Regions from separate parts of the Homo sapiens genome. Here regions 1 and 3 are each linked to region 2. Evidence: promoter capture Hi-C in 16 types of primary human blood cells and fetal thymus (Javierre and others, 2016). All regions are on one chromosome and are shown on one strand. Each heading gives the region's core, a stretch centred on a gene start or on the middle of the fragment in contact. The rest is flanking DNA. Distances are from core to core; before and after follow the strand shown. Region 1 holds the start of LOC105376624 (a long non-coding RNA gene). Region 2 holds the start of ELF5 (E74 like ETS transcription factor 5). Region 3 overlaps LOC102723568 (a long non-coding RNA gene).

The links. Contacts are between HindIII fragments. The CHiCAGO score rates a contact against its expected background, and 5 or more counts as called.
Region 1: a contact is called between a fragment that was not itself captured here and the fragment with the promoter of ELF5 in region 2, in 1 of 17 cell types (endothelial precursors). The highest score is 6.2, in endothelial precursors.
Region 3: a fragment that was not itself captured here is called in contact with the fragment with the promoter of ELF5 in region 2 in 1 of 17 cell types (M2 macrophages); the score reaches 5.9 in M2 macrophages.

What each region holds. Positions count from the first base shown.
Region 1 is chr11:34,874,440-34,877,350 of GRCh38, reverse strand. LOC102723568 (a long non-coding RNA gene) reads right to left here. Exons shown (of 7, transcript XR_007062652.1): 7 at 1-341. LOC105376624 (a long non-coding RNA gene) reads left to right here and starts at 2,073. Exons shown (of 2, transcript XR_931185.2): 1 at 2,073-2,184. The HindIII fragment of the contact is 397 bases long and covers 1,055-1,451 here.
Region 2 is chr11:34,511,963-34,515,051 of GRCh38, reverse strand. ELF5 (E74 like ETS transcription factor 5) reads left to right here and starts at 1,258. Exons shown (of 7, transcript NM_001422.4): 1 at 1,258-1,375. The HindIII fragment of the contact is 1,187 bases long and covers 501-1,687 here.
Region 3 is chr11:34,840,060-34,842,937 of GRCh38, reverse strand. The region is part of intron 6 of LOC102723568 (a long non-coding RNA gene); the gene reads right to left. Among named protein-coding and RNA genes, the nearest start is that of APIP, 75 kb to the left of the region's middle. The HindIII fragment of the contact is 202 bases long and covers 1,361-1,562 here.

The sequences.
Region 1 (2,911 bases), core at 4-2,503, 360 kb before region 2:
ATTTAGCCAGCTGTGGTGGCATGCACCTGTAATCCCAGCTACTTGGTAAGGTTGAGGCATGAGAGTCGCTTAACATGGGTAAGGTTGAGGCATGAGAGTCGCTTAACATGGGAGGCGGAGGTTGTAGTGAGCAGCCGAGATCACACCACTGCACTCCAGCCTGGGTGACAAAGTGAGACTCTGCCTTAAAATAATAATAATAATAATTTTACCACCACTGAGATGATCTTGTGACATACTTTGTCCAACAAAGTGAGGCAGAAGTGACATTATACAGTTCTGATCCTGGGTCTTGGGAAGCCTGGGGTTTCTGCTGTGTTGCAGAACCCTGCCCAGCCATCCTAGAAAAAAAAAAAAAAAAGAACGTTAGGATGTTATCAAAGAAGCAATTATTTCTCTATCTCCCTCTACGATTTTTAGGAATGAACTTAAACCGATAAGCCTGCACATTTCTGCTCTTTCCGCTTTGTTGTAGCAGTCTTTCACAGATATGAAGACAGTGATGACCCCTGTTTAGTGTAGCTTAAAAATGTGTTGATTCTGCTTTAAATTAAAACCTCTAAAGGCTTTGCACGTAAGTGACACTTTCCAAAGGCACTTTCAAAGCCATTTATAGGATTTCAGGTATAATTCTGCTCTTTAAATCTCCTTGTTTTTAGCAATTATTGCAGTTAATTTAATTGTATGACATCTCTAGTGCTCTTATCACACAATAGAATGAATTAAGTCATTTTGATCAACATTCATCAATGTCATATCAGCAATCAATGTGTGCCATTTATAGAAACACTCTGAAAAAGACTTCCTTCCTTTATCTTCCTAAATTTCAGAACTTTATTCTGATTTTCTCCTTACCTCTTTTTATCCAGAAAGCAAAACTGAACTTCTACTTCAAGTGGCTGGCTCCCTTTGCAGCCAAGAATGACATTGTTTAAAAATCTTGCTATGTTGTGACAGCTGGCACTTTGAAGGATATTACTTTGGCCCATAGTAACTTGGTAAAAATTGTTACCATTTAGCCATTTACCATTGCTTGATTCTGACTCATCAAGCTTTCCAATCAATGTGATTTTTAAGTATAAGCCTTAACTATAAGCCTTAATCTTCAATAATTCAATGCCATTCACATATTGTTCAGGCATTTTTCCTATTTATTTAAGAAATGAATCATCTATAGTTCCAATATGAAATAAAAAAAACTCTACAATAAGCCAAATCTAAAATAATACATGTCTATTATCACTCATAATCCTTGTTAATGCTTTCACACCCTAGGACTGAGGTTTTCCTTCTAGTTTTTCTTCCCTTCAATTCCTTCTGTCCATTTATTCTTAATTTGAGAGATTTTATTTGTTGCCTTATAACCTTCTTCTTTGCCTTTTTCTTCTCTTCCTTTTTATTCTTTAAACATACATCTTTTGTTTTTTTCTTTTAATCTTCTGTCTTAAGCTTAGACTTTCTCACCTGACACCCATTTTCTCAGCATATGTTAGTGAAACGGGAGAGTTCCCTGATCCCTCACAGGACTTATGACAGAGGTGTCGCTCATGTGCTCAGCCACTACAGGCTCGAACTCCTTTCGGGAGGGCGAGCACACGGATGGGCGGGGGCAAGAGCTGGGGCGGGGCGAGTGCTTTTGGGCTCCAGCCCCAGTAGCGTTTAGGGGTGTGTTACAATTAATGCTCTTTTAGTAGTTGCCATTTGTGGACGGCTAAGTGTTAAACCAGCTCAGTAGAGAGTCAGGGTGACAGCCTTTTACACCCTGCCCTCTTGGTACCTGGATCCTTGTCCGGTGTATTAGTCTGTTTTCACACTGCTGATAAGACATACCGGAGACCAGGCAATTTACAAAAGAAAGAGGCTTATTGGACTCATAGTTCCACGTAGCTGGGCAGGCTTCACAATCATGGCAGAAGGTGAAAAGCGTATCTCACATGGCAGCAGGCAAGAGGAGAGAACTTGTGCAGGCAAACTCCCATTTTTAAAGCCATCTGATGTTGTGAGACTTACTATCATGAGAACAGCAGAGGAAAGACCCGCCCCCATGATTCAATTATCTCCCACCAGGTCCCTCCCACAACACGGAATTATGGGAGCTACAAGATGAGATTTGAGTGGGGACACAGAGCCAAACCATATCATCCAGCGTCCAGGAAGATTCAGGTCACTCAGACTTGAAGGATGGTGAGTGCAGGGATTTTATTGGGTGATAGAAGTAGCTCTCAGTGGGATGGATGGGGAGCTGGAAAGAGGATGGAATGGGAAGGTGATATTCCCCCAGAGTTTGGCTGCCCCACAGCCGATCTCCTCTCTGACTGTCCCCAGCTGAACTCCTGTTGATGTTCAGACGCTCCTTCTCTTCTCTTCTTCTATGCCATGCCACTCTGCTGCTCTGTCGTTCTGCTACTCTTCTGTTCCTCTGCTCGTGGAGCTTGGGGTTTATGTGGGCACAGAATAGGGGCATGGCAGGCCAGAGTGGTCTTAGAAAAGGCAACATTTGGGCGTGAAAACAGGGATGCCTGTTCCCATTTAGGTCCATGGGTTTCCAGGCTTGAGGGTGGGGCCTTTGCCAGGGAACTGCCCTCTTCTACCTAGTATTTCCTCGCCTCCTGCCCATATCATTAGCATTTTTAATAATTTTACATTGACCTTGAGCAGAATCACTTAACTTTCATTTTCTGATTGGCATTTTCTAAGGGTCTTGTAACTCCAAATTTCAGCAAATCTTCTTTCGTACTCAGTACTTGTTCAGTGCTCAAGTGTTGGTACGTAGGTAGAGGTAAGCTGCTGTTGGTGTCTACCCAGTTTCCCTCACTCATAGGAGCCACCTCCACTCACCCACATCCCTTGAGGCTCTGGGATGATGTCAGTCACAGTATTCTGCCTGCCCTCTTGCTGCAGCCATAACCAC
Region 2 (3,089 bases), core at 9-2,508:
CCCAAAGACCATGTAATCCAGTTACTTGCAAACCCTTTCTAAGGGCAGATTCTTTTGTTCAAATGAAATCTTACCCGGAAGATTTATATAAAAGCTGAGATGCTCTTATTGAGTCAGGAAGGAACGGGGTGGTCTAGAGCCTAACCCACTCTACTCCACTCCCATCCTCTCACCCGCAAAAGTCCTTGTAAGGGCTCCAGGGAGCCCCTGGGGTTCCTCAAGTCACAGTTTGAAAAAAATCACTATTTCAATCCCACTTCCTCCTTTTGCCACTGGGGAAAAATGAAGCCCAGAGAAGTCCAGGTTACCCAGCCAAGATAGGGGTCTAGGCAGTCACCTATCTTCCTTCAACAATTTTTCCATGATGACACCCCGAATCCTCTCACGAACTGCCTTTTGTTTCTGCAGACTATATGCGTATTTGTATTTGTGTGTTTGTAACCATGCCCGGTGATCCCAAGAAAACATAACAAACCAGTCCTTGCTTTCGCTTTAAAGCTTGGAGTCTGCCATTTGAATACAACATCTCGGCTGCCCAAGATGGCTAGAAGCAGAATGCAAAAAGGCACAGGGTTATAAATACCTGTCTCATAGATGACCTGGGACACTGTGCTTTGCAGCCTAAATTAGGCAGAGTTTCTGTTGTCACGAAGAAGTACTAAAAAGCGGGCAGTTCTCAGCGAGACACCTGAGAGCTGGCATCCACATGAGGAGAGGCCCCATCACTTACATTACACTCATGAAGCCCAGAGATGTTAGCTACATTTTTCTAGGTAGCACAGCTAGGAAATGATGGACACTGAATTTGAATCTAAAGGCAACTAGCTGCAAAACCTGAGGTCTTAACACTGGGCCTATAATGCTCTTCCTTCTCACCACATGGGAAAAACGGAGAAAGACATGATCTTACAAAAGCACTGGGCTCAGCCAGCCTGGGAGAGAGGCAGCGCAGACCGGCACCAGGGTGGAATCTCTGTGTTTCCCCTCCAGCTTGCACAGAGGAAAATTCCTCACCAAACGCACGATCCCCGCACAGCTCCCAGGGACAAGAATTTTCTGCTTGTTTACTGAGTCCCCTGGGCTGGGAGTGGGGGGTTGCAGGGCAGGGGTGAGCTGCGCACAAAAGCAGGATAAAGGTAAACTTTCTGCATATGAGAACCATTTCCCCCCCTCCAAGGAGCCGTGTCACACTGTATGTCACCGTCATCAAAGGGGCTGTGCGTAAACCTGAAAAACCAAACGGACCTGTCTGTAGGTGTCACTTATATCACAAGGCTACAGGTGTCTTTATTTCCACTGCACGCTGGTGCTGGGAGCGCCTGCCTTCTCTTGCCTTGAAAGCCTCCTCTTTGGACCTAGCCACCGCTGCCCTCACGTAAGCGCCTTTTCTTTGCTTTTTTGGATGAATCGTAAGGGGTGTCAGGGCTCAGAGGCTCGGCCTGGGGCCTGGGTCTGCTCGTCCATCTCCAGCTCCAGGGCCGGCACCTGCGCTGGGTGCAGTCCCAGGGCCTCCGGGAGCTGTTTGACACGGATGTGACGGCTTGCCTCAGAGAGACCTGCTTGCCTCCGCAGGCCGTGTGGCCACCAGCCCTCCTCACAGCCACCACTCCCTCTGGATCCCTTAGCTGAACCAAGGGGAATTAAGAGAACGCGCCCAGGCGCTCAGTTCTCTATCCTCCCTAAAGCTTCTTTAGGAAGGGAAGCTGGATTTTACTCAGAAAAATATTCAGCTTCAAGGAAAGCCCCCCACCTACCCTTCTCCCCTGACTGAATTCCTTTCCCCACCGGCCTGCCCACTGTCCCCCACCCCCTCGATACAGAGAACTCCCTTATTATAGTTTGGGGCATTTTCAGGAATTTGTACAAAACAGTTTTAAAAGAAACCCATTTGCCCTCTGACATCTCCCCAGAAGAGAATGCTTCCAGAAAAGCAATGGTTAGCGTTTTTCCACTGTGTTCTCAGGCCTTGTCAGACTCTGCAGTGTGTGGGGTTTCTGTGGGGTTGCCCCCTGCTGACAGCGACAGGTAGCACAAGCTCCCTCCTCAGGCTGAAGCCGGGCCTGCGTGTGGATGCCTTTTGTACGCCCGAAAGTGTGTCAGACATCACTAGGTGCAATCGCTTCATGTTACAGATGAGGAAACTGAGGCCAGAAAGGCTAGATGACTTAGGGAGGCAGCTCTGTGGTTCAGTCTAGTCCAGAGACCCAGGGAAAGGGGTGGTTTGCCCATCCGAGTGAACGCTTGATTCTGTTGTCTTCGTGTTCTCTGCAATACTGTTTTTCATAATCTAAGGTATTCTCGGGCCGGAGTTTTCAGTTTGGTCATCTCCCTTTTTCAGAAGTCACCAGAGTGGCAAATTTTTAGATACATTGTTGATGGCTGATTTTTCCCTCTAAAACAGGATTGAATATATGTATTATGCCCCGTCCTTTGCATATATCGGATTGCATGATTTAAAAAAAAAAAAATCCCCATTTTAGAGATGAGGAAACCGTAGTTCGAAGAGGGGCATGAATATTTATATACCACATCTATATGAAAAAAAGCTTAAGAATTTCAGCAGTCTGGGTAGTAAGAAATGTGCCCCACGTTCGCAGCAGCAGAGGTAGGATTTAACCCCTGATATATGTAATCCAAAACTGGTAAGCTTTGCATCGAAGCCTACAGCAAACTACATGGCATACCTTTTTGGATCTTCGCTGCACCTTCAGAAAAACAGCTACAAACAAACAAACACGCAAACTCCCTAAGCGAGCTAAAGAAAAATGAGGAATCACTTGACAAGAGGTCAGCAAATTGGTTCTCACAGTTGCTAGGGTTCCTCTCAGAAGAACAAACCCTCAAGCACCCAACCCTCAATCTTTCTTTAGCAGTAAGTGTTGAAATACTCCACTGGGTTCTCCTCAGTGGGCCCCTTCTTAGGGAGGTCCAAGGGCTGGGAAATTGACCCTCCCTTGCTCACAAGTCTTGGGACGGAGTGGACATTTGGGTATCACTGAGGCTTTAAGGAAGGAAAACCGATTTTCTTCCCAATGATACCACTCAGAGGGTGGGGTTGAGGAAGCCCAATCTTGGCCACTTTTTTCTAT
Region 3 (2,878 bases), core at 212-2,711, 330 kb before region 2:
GCATGAACCCAGGAGGTGGAGCTTGCAGTGAGCTGAGATCGCACCACTGCACTCCAGCCTGGGCAACAGAGTGAGACTCTGTCTCAAAAAATAAAAAACAAAAAAATCAATGTATGAGCAAGCGGTGTCTACAAACGAGCAAGGAGTGTTATAATAATAGTATCCACGCCAAGTGCTTTACACCATGGCACTATTATCCCTGCTTTATAGACAAGAATACAGAGGCTCAGAGAGTTTCAGCTCCTTGGCTGAAGTCACCAAGCCAGGAAGTAGCAGAGCCCATATTTGAACTCAGGTTTGTGTGAGCATAGAGTTATTTACCCAGGTCTATATAGCTCCACTGTCTTAACAGGCTTGTATGATTTCAGGGGTGCTAGGGGGGTTCCCACCCCAAGAAATGCTGGGAGAATCAACTCGAACACTGATATTAAAATCCCACCCTTAGAAATTCCTGCCCCTGACTGAAACCTGTAAAACTTAATTTTCTAAGCATAGGTTACACTGTTTCTGGGGATGGGGGAGACAGGCCTGGAGTAAGAGGAGAAAGGGAAATCAAGAGGCTGGGACCCAGCACGGAGGCGTGGATAAAGGCCACGGCAACATGAGGCTGGAGGGAATTGAGGACCAACACCCTTCTTCTCCTTCAGGTGTCCCGGCAACTAAAATCTGGGAGCCAATGGGAGGCAAAGCTCCTCAATGGGCTAGACTGACACCAGTGCTGCTTGGGAACCAGGTTTGGGAAGGATGGAAGCAGCAGATGGGCTCAGTCTTACTTAAACCTGAAGTCTCTATGAAGACCTCACTCACCCAAGACGCTGGCTTTCAGCCCCCCAACATCTCAGCAGAACTCCAAGAAGTACAACATTCATTTGGCTTCCAATGAATGCAAGCAAAATGGAGTTTCAGGACCATGGCAAAAAAAGTCTTCTGGTGAAATCAGAACATTCTACATAGAGAACCTGAGAACAGGGGAGGAGGCAGAAGTGGGAGCCAGGCTGAGGCAGGAGAAAAGACAAGAAGAATGTGACTGAAAAATTAATGGAGTGACCAGAAAGGTTTTTGGGGTGTGTGTATGTGCGTGTGTGTGTGTGTGTGTGTGTGTGTGTGTGTGTGTGTGTGTTTCTACCCATTGCAGGAGGAGAATGCATTTATTTGGTGAAAAATGTTTGCTGGGTGTATACTGAAATGCTACACTGGAGCCTATACATACAGAGTATATGGCTGGTATGTTATACCGGCCCTACCTCCTGACCTTTGCATGTTTTGTGTCCTCTGCCTGAAATGCCTTTTACATTATCTACCTGTCTACTCAAATTCACCCTTTAAGACTCAGCTCAGAGATGGTCCTTTCCAGGAAGCTTCCTGTGATTCCTCCTGCTCCCTCTCTTAAATTTCTACCCAAGTATGGATTATGCTGCTGAGTATTCATAAGATCTTTGCCCTTAGTACACTGGCCTGAAGTAATCCATGTCCACGACTGTATTCCTGGCTAAACTGACATTTCTTGAGGATCATGTCTTATCCATCTTTGTATCCCTGGTACCTGGCACTTAGTAGAAGCTTAGTAAATATTCATTGCATTCATTGTGTTGATTCTCCATACCTCCCTCTCCGTACCACTGACTAATTATGGACATTTAATGAGAGGCAACTCACATAGGATAAAGAACATAGTCTGGGCATCAGACCTGAGTTGCAGTCCTGGTCCTACCACTTTCTAGATCTATAGCCTTGGGTAAGTTACTCAACCTCTCTGGTCTTTGGTTTCCTCATTTGTAAAATGGAGCTAAACTCCCCCATCTTGCAGGGCTGTTGTTAGGATTTGATGAGCCGATTTAATCCCTGACACAGTGGATGCCCAGTAATTAGTTGGCATTCCTTTTAGTGATAAGTTGTAAAAGGTTAGGCAAGTGTTGGCAGGGCTAGGCAATTGCCTGGCCTTGATGAGGAGTAAAGTCTACTGCCCTCTAGGGGCTGCATGAGTAACCTGGGCCTCACTAGCATGGTGTGCTCTACTCGCAGGAGTCCTTACTGGTCCGTGAAGGGGAAGTGGGGAATCTGTCCTAGAACACAACCCACCACTACACCACTGCCTCCTTCTGGGGCTGGCATTACACTCAGCCAGGCTAGAGAGGCAGCTTTTGGTAAAAAGAACATCAAAGTGGCAAAGACACAGAGATGGCCTTACATAACAGGAGTGGCTGTAGGAGGTGACCCCTATGCAGTGAACACGTCTGACTGTTCCCTCCTCTCCTGAAACACAGCCATCCTACGGTCTCTCCATCTTCAGCAGGAAAAATGACCACAACACTGAAAACTGGATGAAAAGGAATGGCTGAAGTCAGCTTAAAGGCCAAGGAAGGGAAATGGTCAGGTGAGGGAGAACAAGTAGAATAATTTAGAGGACTCAGGGGCCTATAAGGGTTGTGTGATTAGAAAGCCCCTGCAGAAGAAGGAGGTTCCTTGAGGGACCAAGTGAGGAGAAGGCCTTCAACTGGTGGTTTAGTTAGAATCTGTTCCAGGTGCCATGCCAAAGGTGAGCTCCAAGGGATCACTGTGTTCAGCTTCAGACCAAAGGAAAGAACAGTTCTAGATGTTATGGATTCAATGTTAGTTATCAGTGAAGCATCGTCGGTAATGGGCTGTGCCTTCCTGCCCTTCCCATGTTAAAAGCAAAGTCAAGACATTTGGCAGAGACTGCTGACTATTCTCTGATAACTCCTCTGTCCTTCTTTCTGAGCTATAGGCTTGGAATGCAGATGTGATGTCAGGGGCTGGAGCAGCTATATAGGACCATGAGGTAGGATCATTAAGAGTTAGAAGGATTCATGGTATTTCAAGACTGTGGGTTTGTCATCTCAGCTGGCAAAACCAACTG